2 separate regions of the Homo sapiens genome follow, and region 2 is linked to region 1. The links are contacts of gene promoters, found by promoter capture Hi-C in blood cells and fetal thymus (Javierre and others, 2016). All regions are on one chromosome and are shown on one strand. Each heading gives the region's core, a stretch centred on a gene start or on the middle of the fragment in contact. The rest is flanking DNA. Distances are from core to core; before and after follow the strand shown. Region 1 holds the start of RNF183 (ring finger protein 183). Region 2 overlaps C9orf43 (chromosome 9 open reading frame 43).

Region 1 (7,636 bases), core at 2,508-5,007:
GAGATCTTAGAGCTGGCCATCCCACCAACCTTAGGGAGTTAAAGCGGGGAGTTGGAGGGAGGCGCACTCCAGCCCAGCTTCTCCGTTTCAACCAGAAATACTTGGCTTTTCTCTGTTTCTCATATGGGTCATTCGAATAATTTGAAGAGTTGATCTGCTGGGGAAAAGAAAAAGTTTAAAAACCAATTCTCCATCTGAACTACTCACTTTGCAGATGAGAGACAAGAAGTGACTCACCCAAAGTCACCCAGCTAGTTAATGGTGACATGGGACCCATGTCTTCAGACTCATGGTTTTCGTAAAGACAGAAGGCTGCATCCATGCCGTCCCCCTACTCAGTGCGTGTTACTAGCTAGATAATAAGTGTTTGCATGTGATCAGGAATCCTTCACGGCCAGAAGACTCATGGTAGAAATCCAGGAACTGTGGAAGAGGGGATCTGGGGGAAGGGAGTCTCCCTAGAGCCCCTGATATGACATCATCTACCCCGACTGAGCCGATGTCTGAAGCAAAACCTGCTTATACTCTCGGACCTGTGGCTTCCTGGTTTTCTTCTAGACCTCTGGCACTGCTCCAAACAGGGAAGGAGGAAATGAAGATATGCAGAGGGAGATGGAGCCCTAAGCGAAACTAGGGTAGTTTAGCAGGGCTCTGCACCAGTGCTTTATTCTGCAGTCCATTCATCCACTCGGACATTATTGAGTGCTTACTCTAGCCCAGGTGCTGTGCAAGGTATTATGGTGAACAAAATAGACATTGTCTTTGACCTCATGACATTTAGAGTGTAGTGAGGCAAAAAGACATTTAATGAATAATGGGCAATAAATAAATACACAATTTTAATGGTTGTTAATAAAGGGCAAAAAGGAAAATGGGCTTCGGGTGCTTGGTGGCTGCTCCCAATGAGACCACCAGAGAAGGTTTCTGCAAAGAGATGACAGAAGAGCTGAGACCAAAGTATATAGGAATCCAGCCACGCACAGTGGAGGAAGAGCGTTGCAGGCCCAGGGAACAGCATGTGTGGCCCCGAGGTGAGAAAAGCTCTTCCAATTTGAGAAAGTGAAAGGAGCCCAGGGTGATCAAGGTGTGGTGACCGGAGTAGGCAAGGTGGGAGGGTATAGTACTCGGGACCTGTGAACTCAGGAGCTCATCTGGATTTTATTCCAGGGGTGAGCGGTAGGGTAAGGTACCTGATCCTATTTCCATTTTTAAAACACCATTCTAGCTGCAGAGCAGAGGACAGGCTGAGAGGGATAAGATCGGGAAGGGAACACCCGTTCGGGCTGCAGCAGTGTGGCTCAGGCGTGTGATGGTGGTGCAGGTTAGGCAGTGGCAGAGGAGATAAAAGGGGATGGGATAAGTGATATCTTTGGGGACAGAATCAAAGCCACTTCCCAAGAAGCAGTGGAGTTCTAGGGATCCAGTTGTAGTTTCTGTCAAGGTTCATGATGCCAGATCCATGGCTATTTAGGGCTGTGATTCCAGTTGAATTGCTTGACCTCTCTGTGCCTCTATTTCTCCTTGTGCAAAGGAAGCCAAAACTAGTAAAGCTTTTAGTTAGAGCCCAGCACCCAGTAAAGACCACAAAGCAATGCATGACCTAAAAATGGGACTATGTTCTCAGAAACACATCGTTGTATGAACAGCACAGAGAGTATTTACACAAACCTAGATGGTAGAGCCTGCTACATGCCTAGGCTATACGGTCTAGCCTGTTGCTCCTAGGCTACAAACCCATACAGCTTATTATGTTCTGAACACTGTAGGCAATTGTAACACAATGATAATTGCGTGTGTCTTTCAACATAAACTTAGAAAAGGCAAGGTAAATATATGGTATTATAATCTTAGGTGGCCACCATCACATATGTAATTCACTGTTGATCAAAACATTGTTATGGATATATGAGGCAGTTGAAATTATTAATGCAAATGGATTTGAGAGAAAGGAAGGGTCAAGGTTGATTTCAAAGCCGTGACAAAGTCCTCTGCATCAAGCTTTGAGAAGCCCCTGAATCCCAGAGTGTGTTAGAAGCAGATCTTTAATACTTACCAGAGGCCGTAAACTGTATGTAACCTTGACTCATCATTTCCCCCACTGGGAATCGATTCCACGGAAACCATCAAGGACTTCTGCAAAGATGTGAGTAAAGAGATGCCCATCCAGGCGCTGGTTTAACGGTGACGTATGGAGAACTACGTCATCATCCAGTAATAGGACATTGATTAAGTAGATTCTGCTCCATCCATAGGAAGAGATATTATGCAGCCTTTAATATGATGTGGTAAAACTATTAATATGGATATATACCTAGGATATAATGTCATTAAGCGAAAAAGAACCAGCAACAAAACCATATTACCATATAATCCAATTTCCAAAAGTGTGTGTGCAATGGAAAAAATGTCTGGAGAGATAAACAACCAGATATTAGCAGTGGTTATCTCTGGGGGCAAGATTATAAGTTTTTTTTTTTTTTTTAATTCTCTTACCTGAAAATTCTAACTTTACTCCATCCAGTAAGCTTGTATTACTACACGTCAAGATCTCCTGTTTCCCCCCAAATCAGACCTACCTTCTCTGAAGTTCCATGGCCAGAACTGTAAAAGGCTGTCCAAGAGGAGGAAGCATCATTATTGCCTGGATCTTTATCTGTGCTGCTCTCCCAGGGATCCACTGCTGTTTCAGGATCAGCTGGGGAGAGATTCTGGCCATGTATCACCTCCACCCCAAGCCAGGACATCTCAGCTACAGTAAATCCTAAACACCGCCCCAAAGTCATCTCCTTGGTCTATGAACAAGTCATCGCCAAATATCAATTGTCCCCAGCATCACTCCATTGTTTTCAACCAAGAACTGGCATTTCCATAGCACTTCACAGTTTACAAAGGGCCCTGGCCCTTGCTAAGATCTAAGTGTGGTGATCCATCTAGATAGGTTACTAGCCTTTTGGGATTTTTTGTTGTTGTTTGCAGAAAGCCATTTGATACTCTAAAACCACCCTGTGAGAGAGGCTGAATGGGGAGTAGAAAGGTGCCGGCTTTGGAACCAGATTTGGAACAATTTGTCTTGGACAAATGGCTTAACCTCTCTGAACTTCATTTTCCTCTGTAAAAAAGGCTAATCATCCCACTCCTACAAGGTTGCTCTGGGGAAGGAATAGTCTATACGGTGCCCAGTAGAATACGGAAGGCGCTCAATACAGAGTTAGCATGATTATTTTTAGACCCATTTTCTAGATGGGGAAGCCAAGGCTCAGAAGGGTGAGGCAACTTGCCGAAGTCTTCCCAGCTAAAGAGTGGCTGAGTTTGAAAGATGAACCCAGTAGCCTGCCCTCCCAGGCCAGAGTTCACCTGTCGCGCGCTGCACGGCTGCTGCCTCTCTGGACTCTGGAGCCCTGTGACCCGTCCCTCCGCGACCCTCTCTGTCTCCTTACCTGCTCCCTCGGAGCCGCCTCCTCCGCCTCCGTTCGTGCAGCCCTGCACGCATGTGCTTTGTTTTCTGACTTCCCAGGCCCGATTTCCAGGTAGCGTGGGTGGGTCTTATTTGCATAGGTCTTAGCAGCGTTTGGCCAGCTCTCGCTGTTTCAGGTTTTCTTCTTCCTTCTGGTGACTTTGGACCTCCTGTACACCCTGGAAGCTTTGGTTGCTTTGTCTTTCTCCTGTGAGTCACTCTGGCTTTTTCTCTGAGGGGATCAAGTGCGCTCATCCTTGCAGGCCTCTGTTCTGGGTCCGATTGATCTCCTGCCATCCCCTCGGATTCCACTGTCCTCTGTGCGCTGACCTGCCTCGACTCCTGGCTTCTGCCGAGATGGATCCTTCCCTATGCTGAGTCCCTGTAACCAAAATACAGATAGCTCTTGCAAAATACTGACAAAAGCGGCCACTAATACAGCAGAAAAATAGTCGGGAGACGGTTGAGCGTCTGCCTGAAGAGCCAGGGTTCTCAAGCAAGGCACACTTCTAGGTCAGAGTTCAGCCCTCACTGAGAATCCAAACTCCGTTTAACTACCGATGGAGACTTGAGCAAATTAATTAACTTCTGCCAGCCTCAGTTTCCTCACCTGAAAATGGCCATAATAACCTACCTACTTGATCTGTAGATTAAATGAGGTAATACGTGTCGAGATCGCGTAATAACACAGGGCCTGGCAGACAGTAACTCGCTAAATGTTAACCAGAACTATTATTGTTATAACCGGTCTGTTCACGTGGCCCATCTTTTGTTCCCGCTCAAATTCTTTTTGTACCTATGGTCCTCTTTTCTTTCTCTCTCTCTTTCTTTCTTTTTTTTTTTCTTTCTTTTTTTTTTTTTTTTTTAAGACGTAGTTTTGCTCTGTCGCCCAGGCTAGAGTGCAGTGGGGCGATACTGGCTCACTGTAACCCCCACCTCCCTGGTTCCAGCAATTCTCCTGCCACGGCCTCCCGAGTAACTGGGACTACAGGTGCGCGCTACCATGCCCGGCTAATTTTTACATTCTTAGTAGAGACAGGATTTCGCCTTGTTGGCCAGGCTGGTCTCAAACTCCTGACCTCAGGTGATCCACCTGCCTCGACCTCCCAAAGTGCTGAGATTACAGGCATGAGCCACCGCGCCTGGCCCCTTATTTCTTTACTGACATTTTCAGCCATACTTGAGAAATAAACAAGTAAATAAATGTATCTGCTTGGTGATGTAATCAAATGCCCTAGTCCCCGCATTTTGTGTTTTTTTACATTAATTTTTATGTATTGATTTATTTTGAGACAGAGTCTCACTCTATCATCCAGGCTGGGGTGCGGTGGCACGATCACAGCTCACTGCAGCCTCAACCTCCTGGGGTCAAGCAGTCTTCCCACCTCCGCCTCCTGAGTACCTAGGACTACAGGTGCATGCCACCGTGGCTGGCTAATTTTTGTATTTCTTGTAGAGATGGGGTTTCTCCAGGTTGCCTAGGCTGGTCTCAAACTCCTGGGCTCCAGCAATCCACTTGCCAAAAGTGCTAAGATTACACTTGAGCCACCGTGCCCACATTTGATTTTTAAATAGGTAATATATTTACATGGTTGAGCATGTGAATGGTTTGATTTCACAGTGAAAACTGTCTCTTCGCAGCCACCTAGTTTCCCTGGAAATCAAAGTATTATACTATCAGTTTGTTGTGTATCTTTCCAAAGATGTTTTATACATACACAAACAGCATGTCCATGGCAAAACATCTATGTATTCCTTTACCTCCTTTTTACACAAATGTGCATATTATGTACACTGTTCTGCATTTTTCTTTTTTCATTTGATGATGTATTTGAGATATCATTCTGTATTAGTACATAAAGACCTTCTTCGGTTTTTGGCCCAGCGCTGTGACTCACACCTGTAATCCCAGCACTTTGGGAGGCCAAGGCGGGTGGATCACTTGAGGTCAGGAGTTCAAGACCAGCCTGGCCAACATGGTGAAACCCCGTCTCTACTAAAAATACAAAAATTAGCCGGCGTCATGGTGCACACCTGTAGTCCCAGCTACTCAGGAGGCTGAGGCAGGAGAATCGCTTGAACCTGGGAGGCAGAGGTTGCAGTGAGCTGAGATTGTACCACTGCACTCCAGCCTGGGCGACAGAGCAAAAAAAAAAAAAGAAGACCTTCTTCGGTTTTTTAATGGTTGTATCAGATTTCATTGAATGGCTGTACCATAAATCACTTCACCAATCCCCTATTGATCTAACCCCCTCATTATAAATATATAAATATTGAATGAAAGAATAATGCAAAAATGCTGATTTTAAGTTAGCCTAGAATTGTGTGAAAATAAAACTGTGGACTTTGGGAAGTTTTAGATCTCTAAAGAAAATGTCTAAGTAATTCTCCTCTTTCTGAGCTGGAGACGAGGTATATGATCACCGATGGCCTCAAAGTTCCTCTCAGCTCTGGAATTCCCTGCTTTTCGGTGTCACTACTGGTTAACTGAGGTTACTGGGGATTCGAGACACTGATTTAGTCCAAAGAACCTGGTTTGTATTTGAGAGTTTGGAAGTCACGCTTTCTGGCTTGGCAACATAAGAAAACATAAAGAAGTTCATCTACTTTGACCTAATCATGTAATTCCCCAGAAGCATCAAAAAGATATATTTTGGTTGAGTGAGGATATTCATTGCAGTTTTATTTTAATCACAAATGATTGAAAACACTCCAAAACCCCATCAATTAGGTGAAAAACTACATAATCATTTAAAATGATATAGAAAGATTTTCATTGACTTTTAAAAATGGTCACAGTATACTGTAAATGGAGGGGGAAAGCAGCTTAAAAATGGTGCATGTTGGCCGGATACGGTGGCTTACGCCTGTAATCCCAGCACTTTGGGAGGCCGAGGCAGGCGGATCACAAGGTCAGGAGTTTGAGACCAGCCTGGCCAATATGTTGAAACCCCGTCTCTACTAAAAAATACAAAAAAAAAAAAAACTTAGCTGGGCGTGGTGGCAGGTGCCTGTAATCCCAGCTACTTGGGAGGCTAAGGAGGCAGGAGAATCGCTTGAACCTGGGAGGCGGAGGTTGCAGTGAGCCGAGATTGCACCACTGCATTCCAGCCCAGGCAACAGAGAGAGAATCCATCTCAAAAAAAACACAAACAAACAAACCAAAACCAAAACAAAACAAAACAAAAAAACGGTGCATGTTGGCTGGGCACATGCCTATAATCCCAGCACTTTGGGAGGCCGAGGTTGGAGGATTGCTTGAGCCCAGGAGTTCAAGACTAGCGACCCCATTGCTACAAAAAATAAAAAAATAAAAAATTAGCTGGGCGTGGTGGCACATGCCTGTTGTCTCAGATACTCAGAAGGCTGAAGTGGGAGGATCACTTGAGCCCAGAAAGTCAAGGCTGCAGTGAGCCCAGATTGCACCACTGCACTCTAGCCTGGGCAACAGAGCAAAGACCCTGTGAAAGATAGAAAAGAAAAAAAGAAAGAAAAGAAGAAAAGAGAGGGAGAAGGAAGGAAGGAAAGAAGAAGGAAGGAAGGGAGGGAGGGAGGAAGAAAGGAAGGGAGGGAAGGAGGAAGGAAGGAAGGGAGGGAGGGAGGGAGGGGAAGGAAAAGAAAAGAAAAGGAAAGAAAGAGAGAATGTAGCATAAGCCAGATTTTGTAAAGCATAATTTATGTATAAAGACTGCAAGACCATGAGGCAAAATGTCACAATTTTATCTCTGGGTGATGGCCACTCATGTTTTCGCTTTCTTCTTGCTTACATTTTCCAAGTTCTCAAATATGTATTACTTTTGTAGTAAGAAAGTTCACTTAGAAAGTAAGTTAAGTCTGAGTTTTCTGCAACCAGGGTATCCAGAACTTAAAAAGATAAGCAGGTAGGGCAGGTAAGAAGTCAGTCATGACATTGTAAGCATTGAAATAAAAATAAAATAAGTCATAGCCAGGCATGGCCTGTAATCCCAGCACTTTGGGAGGCCGAGGCAGGCAGATCACTTGAGGTCAGGAGTTCGAGGCCAGCCTGGCCAACATGGTGAAACCCCGTCTCTACTAAAAATACAGAAATTAGCCAGGCATGGTGGTGGGTGCCTGTAATCCCAGCTACTCTGCAGGCTGAGGCAGGAGAATCACTTGAACCTAGGAGGCGGAGGTTGCAGTGGGCCGAGATCGCGCCATTGC
Region 2 (7,636 bases), core at 4,176-6,675, 120 kb after region 1:
TATTTTAAGAGACAGGGTCTTTCTCTGTCACCCAGGCTGGAGTGCAGTGGTATGATCATGGCTCATTGTAGCCTCAAACTCCTGGGTTCAAACCATCCTCCTGTCTCAGACCCCTGAGTAACTGAGACTACAGGCACACACCACCACACTTGGCTAATTAAAAACTTTTTGTAGAAACAGGGTCTCACTATGTTGCCCAGGCTGGTCTCAAACTCCCAGCCTCAAGCAATCCTCCTACCTCTGTCTACCAAAGTGCATGAGTTGTCATGCCTGGCCGAGATTAAATTATTTTAAGTTAATTATTTGAAGAGATAATGTATGAACATGATTTTTAAATTCAAAAAGCATTAAAGGATTTATAATAAAAAGGAATCTCTCCTATTACCTCCAAGTCCATCAGTTTGTCTTCACAGGGACAACCTTATTTTGAATAGTTTTTTCGTGTGTGTATCTTACCAGGAATATGGACTAGGTGATTTATAAGATTTCCTTGAGCACTATGTTCTAGGATCCTAAATAGCTAAATGTGAGAAGAGTTAGCCTTTGACTTTTATATAAATGCCTATAATTGTAGTCAGACTGTAAAAGAAAACACCTTGCTTCTGTTTCTATCAGTTCTCTTCCTGCTCCCAAACTGCAGATTGTAATGTCTGTGGGATCTAAGTCTTTGGAGTGGAGTGGGCAGGATAAGTAATGTTCCTGTAGGTAAGCCCCAGGGCACCCTCATATGGGATTGGATTGGGAGTTGCTAAATGCTACCCTAATGGCACAGGGAAGCAGGGGAGATTATCTGCTTATTAATACTCACTCTTGCAGATACCTATACTGATATTTGATGGAGTAGTCTGTTTTTTTTGGGAGAATATTATGAAGATATCTTGAAGATGGGAAACTTAAAATCATCTTCTGTGCCACCAGACTCTTTGCTTAGCATATCCTTAATCTGATATAGGAGCTTAGCACCTCAAGCCATACATAGGCTTTATATCTTTCTCTTAGTTTCCAGTGTTGAATTTGAATGAGACGCAACTTCCCTGCCCTGAAGATGTTAGAAATATGGTTGTATTGTGGATCCCAGAAGAAACAGAGATACATGTGAGGTGAGTATCATATCTGGAACTCAGAGGACTTTGACTCTATAAATCCCTGATGTCTTCTGCAGCGTCCTTTTTGTGATCTCCCATTTAGCCAGCTCATTGCAAGTAGCAGGAGGCCAAGCAGAGAAGGTCGTGGTCTGTTGCATCTGCCTTTTGCTACACTGGAATTTTAATGTAATGCATTTTGAGATTCATGCTGTGGGACTTCTCCATATCAAATTTTACACGGCAGTAAATAGCATACAAGATAGGGCTCAACTTACTTATAAGGCTTGACTAAGAAATAAATGCTCTCTCTTAGTTTTTCTTATTAGCCACTTGCAACAAGTGAAAAAGTTCTCAGTGAAGCATGTGAATCTCTGTTCTCAACCCCAGGGCCTAGTACAGTGTACAAAAGCAATAGCATATAGGACTTGTGTACAAAAGAGTGTGACAAAGACCATTTGGTGAAGGCCCAAAGGCTTGCTAATATTGACAACCATGGGGAAAGTGTTTGGTTCTTCTTTCCTGATCCTTGAGGCTTTCAGGTTCTTAAGTGACATTTAGAGATGATGAAACTTAAGAATTTCTTTTTATTTCTTTTGTTTTTCTTTTTAAAAAATAATCCTGTGAGTGCTTCTCTCTATATATATGCATTTGTGTGTGTGTATATATGGTATAAACAAATGAAAAACAACCCTAAGGGTTTATTTCCTTTCGTGTGAAAGAAGCTCAGAAGTAGGCAGGCTAGGTCATGTGAGCTCCATGAGATAATTAGAAACCAGGGCTCCTTCTAGCTTTTTGGGCCGTCATCCTTAGCCCATGGATTCCAACTTCTAAGGAGTTTCATGGCTGCTTTTAAGGTATAAGTTGGCTACTAGAGATCCAGCTATCATATCCACGTCCCAGGCAAGGAGGAAGAGGTCAGAGCAAAAAATACTTCTTACCAAACATCTCTGTGTCAAGCAGTGAGGATTTAGTGAACCAAATAGATTTGGTCCCTGTCCTGTTGGAGCCTTGTCAGGGGGAGTCAGCCATTACAGACATAACCACACCTACATATATCATTTCTAATTTGGATTCATGCTATGAAAGTAGGTAACCGGATTGCCTGAGAGAATAATGGGAAACCTAATTTAGATATGAGGATGGGGGGTCTTTTTAGCAGAAGGTACTTGGGCAGCAGTTACTGCTGGGTTCCCAACCAGCTATCTTTGAGTACTGATCAAAGATAGGAATCTTTGTGGTCATCATTCACAAATATCCTTGGAGCTTCTGTTTAAGATATCTGGGAATAAGTTGTGCTTACTCTTATTTCAAGTCCAGCTGAGAAGCATGTTTTGTTTTGTTTTGTTTTGTTTTTCTCCAGCCAGCATGGGAAGAAGAAAAGAAAGAACTCGGCAGTGGTGAGTTTGATGTTTTTGTGCAAACCTTTATAATATTGCTATGTAGAGTTTATTTTGTTTTCCTTTCAGGTCTCCTCCACCTTACCCCCGTTCTTTCCTGAAATGATCCAAATCTGCTAAAGAAAACCCTTCTTTAGGAATAATTAACCAAACCATTCTCTATTCAGAGACTCCTTTTTTCTGTCTCCTTCCTATAGGGAGATGAAGAGCACCTTGAGATAATAGGAGGAACTGTTGCGTGTTCAGGGGGGGAGTTTTTGGTCAATTAAAAACGAATCCCCAACGTGATCATATAGAATTTCAATGGACTAGGGGTTATAAGACCTGGGCTTCTAACTCTAATTGTACCATTTATGAGTAAATGTGACCTTGGATAAGTCACTGTAAGACTGCTATGTCCATGAGAGTAGTGTCTTGGTTCATTTTGTTCATTGCTGAATCCCCATCCCTAGCCCTGTGCCTGACACATAATTAGACAATAAATTTTTGTTCAGTTTGTTGAGTGAGTAAACGAATGACCTTTCTGGAAAATGAAACAAAACAACGAATCCCTGTATGATCTGAATACAACAACAGAGTTGGGAGCTTGAGAGGGAAACATGTGGCGGCCCTCATCGTTCAGAGGAGGCAACCATGGCTGGAGTACATGCCAGGGTAGTGTTGAGAGGCTAGAATGTTGATGGAAAGGACTAGGCTAAAAAGAATGCTTTGGAGAATTCTTTCCATTGTTTCTCTTCCAGAAAAGCAAGTCATTTCTGGGTCTCTCTGGAAATCAGTCCGCAGGAACACGAGTAGGAACACCAGGGATGATCGTGCCTCCCCCAACCCCAGTGCAATTGTCTGAACAATTCAGTTCAGATTTCCTACCTCTCTGGGCTCAATCCGAAGCGTTACCTCAGGATCTACTGAAGGAGTAAGTATCATGTAGGTCTGTGGGAGAGCCAGAGCACCTGCTTTTTACTGAAGCTGGGATGGGTCTAAACAGTGTGCTTTTTCTGAGTAGGACTGGGAGAAAACTATCACCCCGATTTGTTTACTGAACTCTTGGACTTACCAACAGGCAGGGATGACCATCATAACCACCACCATTTGTCACACTTACCATTTGCCTGGCCCTGTGCTAGGCATATCACATGTACTTTCATTTAAATTTGCACTAGGAGGTAGGCACTATCACTGTCTTCTTTTTATAGGTGAATTATGAATAAGTGGTAGGCAGAATATGTGGTCTGCAGTGAGATGACCTTTGAATTTTACATTGAAACTTAACTGGCTATATGAATTTTGGTAATGTATTTAGCCTCTTAAAGCTTCATTTTCCTCATTTGCAAAGTGGGAGTAATATCTGTTCTCAGGTGTTGTAAAAGCACATGAGCCTGACATAGAATCAGCACTGAGTATATGCAGCTATGATGATCGTAGTTGCATCAGAAAAGTGTTACCAAATGAACACTTGTTGGTACAGGCCTTTTCAGACCCAAAGTGGAAATTTCTTGGAGCCCTTTACATCTCTTTCTCCTCAGCCATGCTTTCCGGGAAGAGCTGTTGCTGACTGTCTGGCTGTCCTCTGTCCCCTTCAGACTTTTGCCAGGTGGAAAGCAAACCATGCTCTGTCCAGAGATGAAGATAAAATTGGCCATGATGAAAAAGAATCTTCCCTTGGAAAAGAACCGACCTGACAGTGTGATTTCTTCTAAGATGTTTCTATCTATACACCGCCTCACCCTGGAAGTAAGAGCTAGGAAACAGCAGGGAAGAAGCCTATGTGAAAATTCAAACCCATCTCTCCTCAAATCTGGAAGAGTTGACATTCTATTCCTTATCTCCCTTCTGCCTTTCCACTCTGAACCCATGCCCCAGAGAAGGCTGGGCTCTATGTATGTAAAAGCCAGTCGATGGGGAAGTGTTGAGAGAGCAATGTTCTCTATTTCTTTCTTTTTTTTTTTTTTTTCTTTTTTGAGAGACTGGGTCTCACTCTGTCACCCAGGGTGTAGTGCAGTGGTTGATCATGGCTCACTGCAGCCTTGACCTGCTGGGATGAAGTCATCCTCCTACCTCAGCCTCCAGAGTAGCTGGGACTACAGGTGTGCGCCACCATGGCTGGCTAATTTTTAATTTTTTGTAGAGACAGGGTCTCACTATGTTGCCTAGGCTGGTTTCGAACTCCTGAGCTCAGGTGATCTGCCCACCTCAGCCTCCCAAAGTGCTGGGATTACAGGCATGAGCCACCATGCCTGGCCATGTTCTCTATTTCTTCTGCACTTTGTTCCCCACACCTTTTCCCTTCCTCCGTAGCCCCTGGTACAATGCTGCAAAACACTGGGTTCTTAAAATGTGCTTGTTGACTGGATGAATAAACGCATTTGGGGGATACATTTGGAGAAAGGGAAAGACCTGCAGTAGAGCTTTTCTTTTTCTTTTTTCTTTCTCCAGAGACCAGCACTGCGATATCCTGAACGTTTGAAGAAATTACATAACCTGAAGACAGAAGGTAGATTTGCTGTTGCTGCTGGATCTCTAAGCACCATTTTCTGTTAGCCCACATTTCTCATACTTTAACGTGGTCCAATTCAGTTATATTTGTGGCCACAGTCATACAGGGTCACATGTAGAACTCAGGAAACAATAGTTTCAGGAAGCAGCCCCTCTGGCTTGGTCCTTACCAGGGAGTCACCATTGTGAAGGAAGGCACAGCAGGCATTCCAGTGGGAGAGAGGGGGCTGTTAGAAGAGGATCAAGCTGGCTCTCTGGTCACCAGGTTACAGGAAACAGCAGCAGCGGCAGCAGCAGCAGCAGCAGCAACAGAAGAAGGTGAAAACACCTATTAAGAAACAGGTAGAGTGGCAGTGAGGGGCTTGCTGGGACTGGGAGAGGTCTACAGCCTGGAATGGGAAGGGATGTATGAAAGGTGGGGGTCTCCTTGTTTTCTATCTGGTTATAGATAAAAAGTTCTTGTCTGGTTGTAGATGTTAAATTCCTTCTTTTTGATATTCCTTTTGAAAAAAGTTTTCTTTACTTCCAAAAATCCTAATTTGTTCCTCCTGATGTGGGTTTCAGGAGGCTAAAAAGAAAGCCAAGAGTGATCCAGGGATCCAGAGCACTTCACATAAACATCCAGTTACCACCGTTCATGACCGTCTCTATGGTAAGGGGAATATATGCTTGGTTGGGGGTGATAGGATCCCTGAGGGGTAGGTATCTGAGGGCAGGAAAAGCTAAACATGCTCTTGTCATTTTGAGACCTGCCTTTGTCAGGCACTCAGAGTTTCTTGGAATGCTTCAGTCTGTCTGGTCTCTCATGCACCATCCTTCCCTCATAAATTTGCTAAACAAACAAGCTGAGCCAGATGTCTGCTTCACATGAGGGCTTGAAAGATGACCATGAACATGAATCCCAGTCATCTTTTCCTCAGGTTCTACCTTAGAAAAGGCAGAGCACTTTGAGGATCAGGAGAGGAACAAGCCCAGGTTACTGAAGAGAAAACCCTGAGGGCCCATTTTCCAATGAGGCAGGGAGAGCTGGGGCCCCTCACTAGAACCCCAAAAGAGTTCTAAGGAAGCAGAGCTCTGGGGCCCCCTAACCTTCCTGCCACAAGGTAGAGAGTCTCTGGAGCCTCACGTTAAAATCAACACATTGTCTAGCCCCATCCAGGAGTCAGGGAGCCAACTCTTGTCAGGCAGTTCTTTTGCTCCAGTGCTCATGCTGGACACAAGAATGGACATCTCCCCTTTTTGGAGTCGTTATTATGTCTGAGCTCAGGCATATACTTACCCCTATCCCTCCAAAATTTTTCAACTTGAGTGGAGAATGGGAGGAGGGAGAAAGAATCCCCCCAAACTTTGGAGGATCGTTGTGCCCGTCTCAGACTGGACATTGCTGACTTTAATATGAAAACAACTGTTTAATCATCAGAAAGAGCTCTCCAATCCTGGGGCACTGGGAGGGCTGAGATGAGGTTTCCTGAGAAGGATGTTGCCCTCTTGCTTTCCTTCCCATCTCACTTAGTTGTCTGATGCCAATGATCTGCTCTAACCTGAAGGTTGGAAGGTTCCTGCCCTTCTTATGGGAGGTGGACAGAATCAGGGCTTGGCCCCGGGCAGGAGGTGATGTATCCAAGGTTAACACTCCATCTAGGGTGACCACTACCACTCCCCTGAATTCCGTTCTGGTGCCTTTTGTACCCCTTCCCAATGCCTCCAATAGGAGCAATTTTGCTTGGGTGACTGGGGTGCCTCTGTGAGTCATGTTCATAGAGCAGTGGCCTGTCCTCACTGAGTTGAGAAAGGCTTTATGGAAGAGATGATTTTTGCATTGAATCTTGAGTATGTGTGGGAGTTTTCCTGATATGGGAAAGAACTCTTGAGAGGGAATAGCCTGTGCAAAGGCATCTAGGAGGATCACAGCTGCTCAGGAAACACTGAGCAGTTGAGTGTGGTTGTGGGGTTGGGTATTTAAGGGAGAGTGGTCTATCACACCAAAGAGGTAGGCAGGGGCTTGTATGGACTGCTAAGTCTTTTGACCTTTATCATCCAGGCCAGTGGTGCTCCGCCTTGACTGTACACTAAGACCAATTGTGAAGCTTTTATTTATTTATTTATTTGAGACGGAGTTTCGCTCTTGTTGCCCAGGCTGGAGTGCCATGGTGTGATCTCGGCTCACCACAACCTCTGCCTTCTGGGTCCAGGTTCAAGCAATTCTCCTGCCTTAGCCTCCCCGGTAGCTGGGATTATAGGCATGCACCACCACGCCTGGCTAAGATTTTGTATTTTTAGTAGAAACGGGGTTTCTCCATGTTGGTCAGGCTGGTCTCGAACTCCCAACCTCAGGTGATCTGCCCGCCTCGGCCTCCCAAAATGTTGGGATTACAGGCGTGAGCCACTGCGCCCAGCCAAGAAGCTTTTAAAACTCTAATACTCAGACTGTGTCCCAGCTATTAAGTCAGAATTTCTGATGGTAGGAACTAGGCCTCAGTGTTTTTTGTTTGTTTGTTTTTTAAAGCTCTTCATTTCTCCCAGTGTACAGCTAAGGTGAGAACCAGTGCTGGTAGGGAGTCCATGGAAATGCTATAATTTAGCATAATACCTCTGGTGGCAGCTTGGAAGATGTTTGTTTAGGGAAAGGGAGATTGAGAAAAGAATGAATGAATCTACCTA

What was found. Contacts are between HindIII fragments. The CHiCAGO score rates a contact against its expected background, and 5 or more counts as called.
Region 2: a fragment that was not itself captured here is called in contact with the fragment with the promoter of RNF183 in region 1 in 2 of 17 cell types (erythroblasts and megakaryocytes); the score reaches 6.5 in erythroblasts.

Annotation. Positions count from the first base shown.
Region 1 is chr9:113,299,619-113,307,254 of GRCh38, forward strand. It overlaps RNF183 (ring finger protein 183), which reads right to left and starts at 3,758. Exons shown (of 5, transcript NM_001371237.1): 1 at 3,438-3,758; 2 at 2,577-2,695; 3 at 2,054-2,133; 4 at 1-157. RefSeq lists an enhancer at 6,029-6,198. The HindIII fragment of the contact is 12,929 bases long and covers 3,639-7,636 here.
Region 2 is chr9:113,420,104-113,427,739 of GRCh38, forward strand. It overlaps C9orf43 (chromosome 9 open reading frame 43), which reads left to right. Exons shown (of 14, transcript NM_001278629.2): 5 at 1,000-1,100; 6 at 2,446-2,482; 7 at 3,223-3,395; 8 at 4,063-4,213; 9 at 4,916-4,973; 10 at 5,241-5,317; 11 at 5,540-5,627. Among named protein-coding and RNA genes, the nearest start is that of C9orf43, 13 kb to the left of the region's middle. The HindIII fragment of the contact is 3,270 bases long and covers 3,791-7,060 here.